Linked DNA regions of Homo sapiens: region 1 is linked to region 2. The links are contacts of gene promoters, found by promoter capture Hi-C in blood cells and fetal thymus (Javierre and others, 2016). All regions are on one chromosome and are shown on one strand. The core of a region is centred on a gene start or on the middle of the fragment in contact, and the rest is flanking DNA. Distances in the headings are between cores, read along the strand shown. Region 1 overlaps LDLRAD4 (low density lipoprotein receptor class A domain containing 4). Region 2 holds the start of PTPN2 (protein tyrosine phosphatase non-receptor type 2).

What was found. The method cuts DNA at HindIII sites, captures the fragments that hold promoters and counts their contacts. A CHiCAGO score of 5 or more calls a contact.
Region 1: a contact is called between a fragment that was not itself captured here and the fragment with the promoter of PTPN2 in region 2, in 1 of 17 cell types (fetal thymus). The highest score is 5.8, in fetal thymus.

Annotation. Positions count from the first base shown.
Region 1 is chr18:13,629,043-13,632,992 of GRCh38, reverse strand. All of the region lies in intron 5 of LDLRAD4 (low density lipoprotein receptor class A domain containing 4), which reads right to left. Among named protein-coding and RNA genes, the nearest start is that of MIR4526, 20 kb to the right of the region's middle. The HindIII fragment of the contact is 3,355 bases long and covers 456-3,810 here.
Region 2 is chr18:12,882,202-12,886,111 of GRCh38, reverse strand. PTPN2 (protein tyrosine phosphatase non-receptor type 2) reads left to right here and starts at 1,875. Exons shown (of 9, transcript NM_002828.4): 1 at 1,875-2,039. The coding sequence starts at 1,971. RefSeq lists silencers at 254-303, 1,663-1,952, 2,333-2,672. The HindIII fragment of the contact is 3,601 bases long and covers 789-3,910 here.

The DNA.
Region 1 (3,950 bases), core at 884-3,383, 750 kb before region 2:
GGATGACCTGCCTACAGAAAGGAGCTACCCATTGACAGACAGACATTGGGATGACCTGTCTGGGGAAAGGAGCTACCCACTGTGGGTCTCCTCTCTGATCTGAGCTGGACAGACAGACATCAGGATGACCTGCCTACAGAAAGGAGCTATCCAGTCTGGGTCTCCTGAGAGCTGTTCTGTTGCTCAATGAAGCTTCTCTCCAACTTCTCACCCACCAGTTGTCCATGTACCTCATTCTTCTTGGATGTGGGACAAGAACTTGTGACTGGCCGAATGGTGGGACTAAAAGAGCTGTAACATAAACAGGGCTGAAACATGCCCCTCCACTCACCACACTGTGGGGGACAAGAAGGAAAGAAGAGCTGTGACCCTTAGGGCAGCCCAGACCTAGGGTTCTCCTGGCCAGGGCTGTGACACCATCTTTGGGACTCTGCAGTTCCTGGTGTCTCCAAGCTTCCGGGTACCATCACATTCCCCTCATCCAGACGCAAGTGCCTGCAGTGGATGCTGCATGCAGTGTATCTGGTCCAGCTGCAGCCTTGCACAGAGCAAGCACCTGTGCCAGTACCTGGAGCTGCCTGCCCTGCTGCAGCAACCAGCGCACCTGGCTGTGCACAGTGGCTGGACCTTGCACTCACTTGCTCACACACCCCTCACCATTCTGTGCCTGGCTTGCCCTTGGCAGGTGTGGGATCTGGGCCAGTAACGTGAGCTGAGCGCAGCCTGCCAGGGGAAGTGGGCAGGATGAGCCCAGTGGGCATGAGCAATACTCAGGCAGAAGGCACCACCAGCCACAAAGGTTTCTGACTGGCGAAGTGACACCCTAAGGATCCTGTGACAATACTATTTCTGCATCAACTGAGATGATTGTGGGACAAGAACTTGGGACCTGCTGAATGAAGTTTGGGACCCCCAACTTCATTCTGTTAATGTAGTGTATGACACTGACTGAATTTCATGTATGGAACCATCCTTGCCTTCTGGGAATAAATCCCCCACTTGTTGATGATGTATAATCCTTTTACTTTTTTAAATTTAATTTTTATTTAGTATTATTATTATTTTTGAGACAGAGTCTCGCTCTGTCTTCCAGGCTGGAGTACAGTGGCACGATCTCAGGTCACTGCAACCTCCGCCTCCCGGGGTCAAGTGATTCTCCTGCCTCAGCCTCCCGAGTAGTTGGGATTGCAGGTGCGTGCCCCCATGCCTGGTTAATTTTCGTATTTTTAGTAGTGACAGGTTTCACCATGTTGGCCAGGCTGGTCTCGAACTCCTGACCTCAAGTAATCTGCCTCCCTTAGCCTCCCAAAGTGCTGGGATTACAGGTGTGAGTCACTGTGCGCAGCCAGTATAACCCTTTTAATATACTGCTGAATTTAGTTTGCTAGTATTTTGTTGAGGACTTTTGCATCAATATTTATAAGAAATATTAGTCTATGGTTATCTTTTTCTGCTGTGTCTTTGTCTGGCTTTGGTATCAGGAATGCTGGCCTCATCTCATAATGAGTTAGGAAGTGTTCCCACCTCTTGAAATTTCTAGAAGTTTAAGAAGGATTGATGTCAATTCTTTAAATGTTTGGTAGAATTCACCACTGAAGCCATGTGGTCCAGGTTGGAGATTTTAGACCATTGGTTCAATCTCCTTACTAGCTATAGATCTATTAAGATTTTCTATTTCTTCATGATTCAGTCTTGGTAGGCTGTTTCTAATATCTTTTCATTTCATCTAGGTTATCCAATTGGTTTGCATACAATTGTTCGTAGCACTATTTTATAATCCTTTTCATTTCTGTATTTATTGGATCATTTTTCTTCCAACCAGTACATCTCATATTATTAAAGGACAGTCGTCTGCAGCCATGACTTACTGAGGGTTCCCTTGTGCTGCACCATGGGCTGTCGCCTGCTGCCATGCGTCCACGTGTGCAAGGCCACACCACGCCCGAACCCTGCTGGGCTTATGCTCTCAGCTACACTCTCCTTTCCACACACACACAGAGGACCCCAGGAATGATCAGATGTGGGGACTGGAAACAACCAGGGAGAGCACTGAACACAGTGTTTTCCACCATGTGCTTTGCAGCCTCTTAGAGAGCTGGAAAATCCATTTAAGTGGGTCACAGCCAGCATTCCAAAAACTGAAACAGAACAGAAATGATCTGAGCACACTGTAAGTATTGTTTTGTAAAACCTCTGCCTTAATTGCATTATAGGAGGCTTTTGTGTTGTGATATAAAATGTATTTCTTACTGTTCTTCATGGCAAGATACAGATTGAAGGCCTCCGAATGAAGCCAGTTATCCCTCATTTTAGATGGGGGGAAACTGAGGACAGAGGGCATATTCCTCTCTAGGCACCTCGGTCAGTCTGCGGTAAAGCAAGACTACTGCTGGGTATTCTGATTCTACCCAAGGGCTAACCTCCCAGTGAATGAATGTATTTTATGGCCTCAAATAGTTGGAAATCTATTTTTCCCCTGTTCCACAGTGAGAATTTCAAAGAAGAGGTGAAATTGATCTTTGGATATTCAGCAACACCTTTGCCTTCTGATAAAATCAATTTTCCCTGTTTTCTCCCTTTTTTCATGCAGCCTCTCCACCATCCTGATATTTTATCACTACCGTCCTTTCCACTCTAGATGGCAGTCACAGCCTGGATGTGAGGCCAGTACCCCTGGCTGTCAGAGACTGCACCTCCCCCTTTCTTCCTCCTGGGGAATCCATCATCAGACTTCTCAGATTCAAGATCCCCCAACTCTGCTCAATCTAGGGCACGTCCCTTAAGAGAAAAGACAAATCATCTAGGAAGGTCTGCTGGAAGAAAAGGAAGGGAATCCTTTCTATTTCTGGGACAATGCAATGGGCTAGCGGGGAAAAGCAATATGAGGTGCCTCTCCCAGCTTGGTGCTGGGGTTAGTGAGCAATCGGACTTCAAGAGGAATCAGCCTGGGAATGAGAAAGTTCCAGGCAGCAGGAAAATGTGGAACCACACAAGATCCAGGCAGGCATCATCCTGATTTCAGCACCAGTTGCCTCGTCTCACATGTGAGAAGAAGTCAGAGCTCAGAGGGGATTTTCTGTGACCTTCACCCAAGGTCACAGAGCTGCTGGGGCTTTGCCAAGAGCCAGACCCCAGCCTGGTGAGCCTCCCCAACAGGGGCCACCCAGAGTTATGATCATTAAGATAATTTTTAATCTTCTTCTCTTTTTTTTTTTCAGAACAAACCACACCAACTTTCAAGGACTAAGCAAAAAATAAACCAACAGATTTTACTATTAGATTATTAATGCTAATACCTTATATATTTAAAAGATTACTATAAATTTGTTGATAAAAATGTTCATACATTTTATTTAAAATTATTATTTTAGCCACCATAGAAACCATGTTCAAATGAATTACTCTGGGAGTCTATAGATGCCCAGAACATTACTGCCTTTAGCATCAGTTTACATGATCAGAGGATGTTTTGTAATTGCAAAGGTAATACATGAATACATTCTTACCATAAAAGTTTTACTGCACAGATCAGTGTTCCTTTGTCCTTACTTCCTTCCCAGGCACAGCTGTCAGTTTGCTGTGGGTCCTTCCTGACCTTTCTCTACAGATCAGTTTGTAACTCGGACGTCAGTCTCACTAATTGAGTCGTGCTTGCCTTTGCACCAAAATTGTATCATTTGGTTTGATCACCCATATAATGAACAAGACTTAACTCTAAATGGATTTTGGCTGGTACCAAAAATCAAATCTATCCCCAAGAGCAAAACTATTTGCTCTTTGCAAAGGAAGATTTGCCATTGTGGAGAAGCTTTTAAAAAATTTCCCTTGATTAAAAAAACAAACAAACAAATAAAAACAACCCAGTCAGGTGCAGTGGCTCAGGCCTGTAATCCTAGCACTTTGGGAGGCTGAAGTGGGAAGATCGTTTGAGGCAAGGAGTTCAAGACCAG
Region 2 (3,910 bases), core at 626-3,125:
AAAGGACTTTGAACAATTTGGGGGCAATAGGGAAGCCTGACATTTTAAAATCCTGAGAACTTCTGATCTTGACTTCAAAAGGGGCAAAAGTCTACATTTGGGGTCCTTTAGAAACAGCAAGCTAGGAACTAGTTGGGTTGGGAGTCACATATGTCGGAGAGACCAAGTCATATCTTGTCAGCAGGATATCTCGAAGCAAGTTAACCTCTGTTTTCTTTTTACCCCCGGGCTTCAGTGCAGCCCTGTATAGGTATTCTTCTGGAGCAATCATTCTCAAACTCTGGGGGGGCACAGGCATCCCCAGGAGAGCTTGCTTAAGTAGTCTCCTGGGGCCCCAACACCAGAGATTCTGATTCAGTAGTTTGGGGTGAGGCCTTCAAATTTGCATTTCAAAGAAGCTCACACTGGATGCAAATGATGCTGGTGTGAGAACCACTGTTCTAGATTCTTCGCTGCACTCAGCAAACTAAGATAGGCAAATACAGCTCCCGGAACCAGAGAGGCTGACAAATGAATTCCAAAGAGATGCTGAATACTTGGCGATAAGAACTGCTGCTTTGAGATAAAGATGCTCCTCCTTTGTAGAACACAGTATTTTTTGGTTGGAAAGCAATCTGATGAGCAGACTAATGCGAACATTCACAGGATATTCTGGGAGATACCATGCCTTTAATCAAAATAATCAGATTCAATGACAGAATTTCAGAACCAAGGACCATTAGACATTGTGGGGTCTTTCGGGGGAAGCTTTCCTGTATCTCTAAATCATACTATGTAAGTAGAAAGCTTGCTGACTGCTTTTTTGTTAATACGATTTCTTCTAGCTTCCGTAGCCAACTTTTTTTTTTTTTTTTCTGGCTAGGGTTTTCATTATTTTATGTGATTAAGGACACTTTTCTGCCCCAAGTATTGTAATCCTCTCGGCCGGCTCTGTCCAAAAGAACTGTCTTCGATGATAGAAACGTTCTACATATGTACTTTGCCACATAGCAGCCACTAGCCATACATGGTTATGGCACACCTGAAATGTGGCTGGTGCCACTGAGGAATTAAGTTAATATTTAAAATTTAAATCCCAATACTGGACAGCACGGCTAAACCTTTCCTAACCCTTCACGTTTCTTATGAAGATTATATAGCAGGATATTACAAGCACTAAAAAAGAACTATCTTAAATCTGAAGCAAGATGATTTCCCTAACTAGTACGTTTGTTTGGTAAAAGAGGACGTGCTATTTTTTACAGTTAAATCTAATTCGTAAGTTGTAGAACGTTTTCTTAACAAGGTATCCCTCTCCCAAATTCCGGGAGAGGCTGGCTGCCTTTCCTTTTGCTCCAGCGGTTTATTTGGCATAAAATCTGCAGGCTTACAGGAGCTGACACCAGGGCAGAAAAGAATGAGGAATTTGTTTCCAAGTTGGTCACAGGCCGCTAATCTGACCTAGATGATGTTTAAAATAATATTCAAATACAGCACTTTAAAAAACTATGAAGGCTGAGAAGAAAACGAGAAATGGGAAGCAAGAAGGAAGGCGGAGCGTGCCGGCGACTTCTCAGGGGACTTCCTCAGGGAGTCCCATTCCAGTAACCCCGCGCTACCCACGGACCACCGCCTCTCTCTTGTCGGAAGACGCAAGCCCAAGGGGCGGCTCACCTCGTGCCGCGCGCAGGGACCACGGCCGCCGGGTGGTCCCCTGGCCCCGCCCCCTCCCACCTGGGCACCCCGAGCCCCGCCCCCCGAGCGCCCCGCCCCGCCCCGCCGCCGACTTCGCGCCGCGCTCGGGCGCCGAGTCTGCGCGCTGACGTCCGACGCTCCAGGTACTTTCCCCACGGCCGACAGGGCTTGGCGTGGGGGCGGGGCGCGGCGCGCAGCGCGCATGCGCCGCAGCGCCAGCGCTCTCCCCGGATCGTGCGGGGCCTGAGCCTCTCCGCCGGCGCAGGCTCTGCTCGCGCCAGCTCGCTCCCGCAGCCATGCCCACCACCATCGAGCGGGAGTTCGAAGAGTTGGATACTCAGCGTCGCTGGCAGCCGCTGTACTTGGTGAGTCGCGGACCCACGCGGCAGTCGCCGACCTCCTCCGAGACCCGGACTCGTGCCCTGTCCGCAGGGTCCCTCCCGCCTCCCCCGCCTCTCGCCTCTAGCCTCTCGCTCGGGGCGGAAGTGGCGGCGCGGTCCGCGTCAGGGGCGCGCCTGCGCTGACCGCTCTCTTGCTCCTTTTGGTTTAAAAAAAAAAAAAAAAAAAGCATACTTGAGCTGAGCAGCTCATGGTTAGCGCAAGCGCAGTTAGTTCTGGAGGGCGGTGCCACAGCGGCTTCTTGGGGAGCGCGTGGATGCGCCACCAGCGTTGCGCGGCCCGGGTCTGGGGGTCCTTGGGAAAGCCGTGGGGGCGCTCGGGCGCGCGCCCCCGGGCCGCAGCTTCGCCGTAGCTCCCACGCCGCTGTGCTTGGTTCTTGCTCGCGGACAGCTCTTTCTCTGGCCGGGTGTTTTGTGGCCGGGTGGGCAGCTGGCGTCCCCGGGAGCGGTGAGGGCGGGGGCGGGCGAGCCGGGCCGCGGCGTCCGGGTCCAGCTGGCGCCCGCGCAGGACCTGTGGGAGCAGGCCGCTCTGGGCGCCGGGCCGGCCGCCGCAGCCCTCTGCGAGGCGAAGCTCGCTCTCCTGGCGGAGCCGCGGTGGTTGGGGGTGGCTCGTGGCCTCTGGCGAGGGCAGCGCTCTCGGGACCCTCCGTCTTCATTTTCCCCCGTGGCCCAGCAGCGCCCAGCGTGGGTTCGGCCCCCATAGAACCTTCCCGGAACGAAAGAGGCTTTGCTTGTGTTCGTCCAGTGATAGCGTGTCATTCTCTTTATAGTTTTCCTTACTGAGGTATACTTTCCCTACAGTGAAACGCAGCTTTCATGTGTGCTCCCAGACGGGTGTCACAAATGAATCCCCTCTTGCAAGCCCCCTCAAATCAAAATAGCCTTTCCTTGCCCTGAGAAAGTGCCCTCATCCCCTCCCCGGGGGCACGGTGTTCCGATGCCTATCGCCCTAATCGTGCCTGTTCAGCTCACATAGATGCAATATGTAGTATAAACACCTGTGATTCGCTTTTTTTATGTCAACTAGACTACCTTTTAATTCAAACAAAACTTTATCTCTTTTAAAATGATGTAACTGCTTTCCCCTTCGTTTAATCCTTGTCGTATTATTCCCAAGATTGAATTTGGTGACGGTTAAGTTAATGCTGCTTCTGATGTTTGGTTCTCTCTGTGTAAAGTAAAAGACGGGCTTTCCTGTAAATGGATGATCCTGGGTTTTTCCCCTTTCCATTTAATTAGATGGCAGTGAAAAATGTGTTCAGAAAGTAACGTTTTCTTCTTGAACACATTAGTGGGAAGTATAAATATTCTGATTCCCATGATACAGAGTATGTTAGAATAGGGATCTAAGTTTTAAAGAATGCTGGTAAGGACTCTTCCAATTATAGACAATCTGAAACGCAAATTCTGGTAGGAATCTTCATGTGAGAGAGCCTGCCAGCTGCATCTTCTCCAGTTACATTTGTTTTAGCAGAGGCTGCTGTCTCTCTAAGGGATAGGTTATATATCGAAATAGATTTGAAAAGAGAAAAGTGAATATAACTTAATTCAGCTTAACATTTTGGTTTAAGAAATTTAATTTTCTTTGGTATCATTAATATCCTTGAAAATTCAATGAGAATTGTGATTCCTCTTTCCAGAAAAATGAACTTAACTCGCATCCACTGGAGATTTCACATGCATTTTCAAAAAGATAAGGAAATCCTTCTATAGATTCTTACCGAGGAATCCTGTAGTTTCCTTGGTTGGTCAATGCTCATATTATTTTTTCCTAGTTGAAAACAAGACCATTAGTTTGGTCAGTAGAAACCATGGCATGCACACTGGTGTTACAGTAA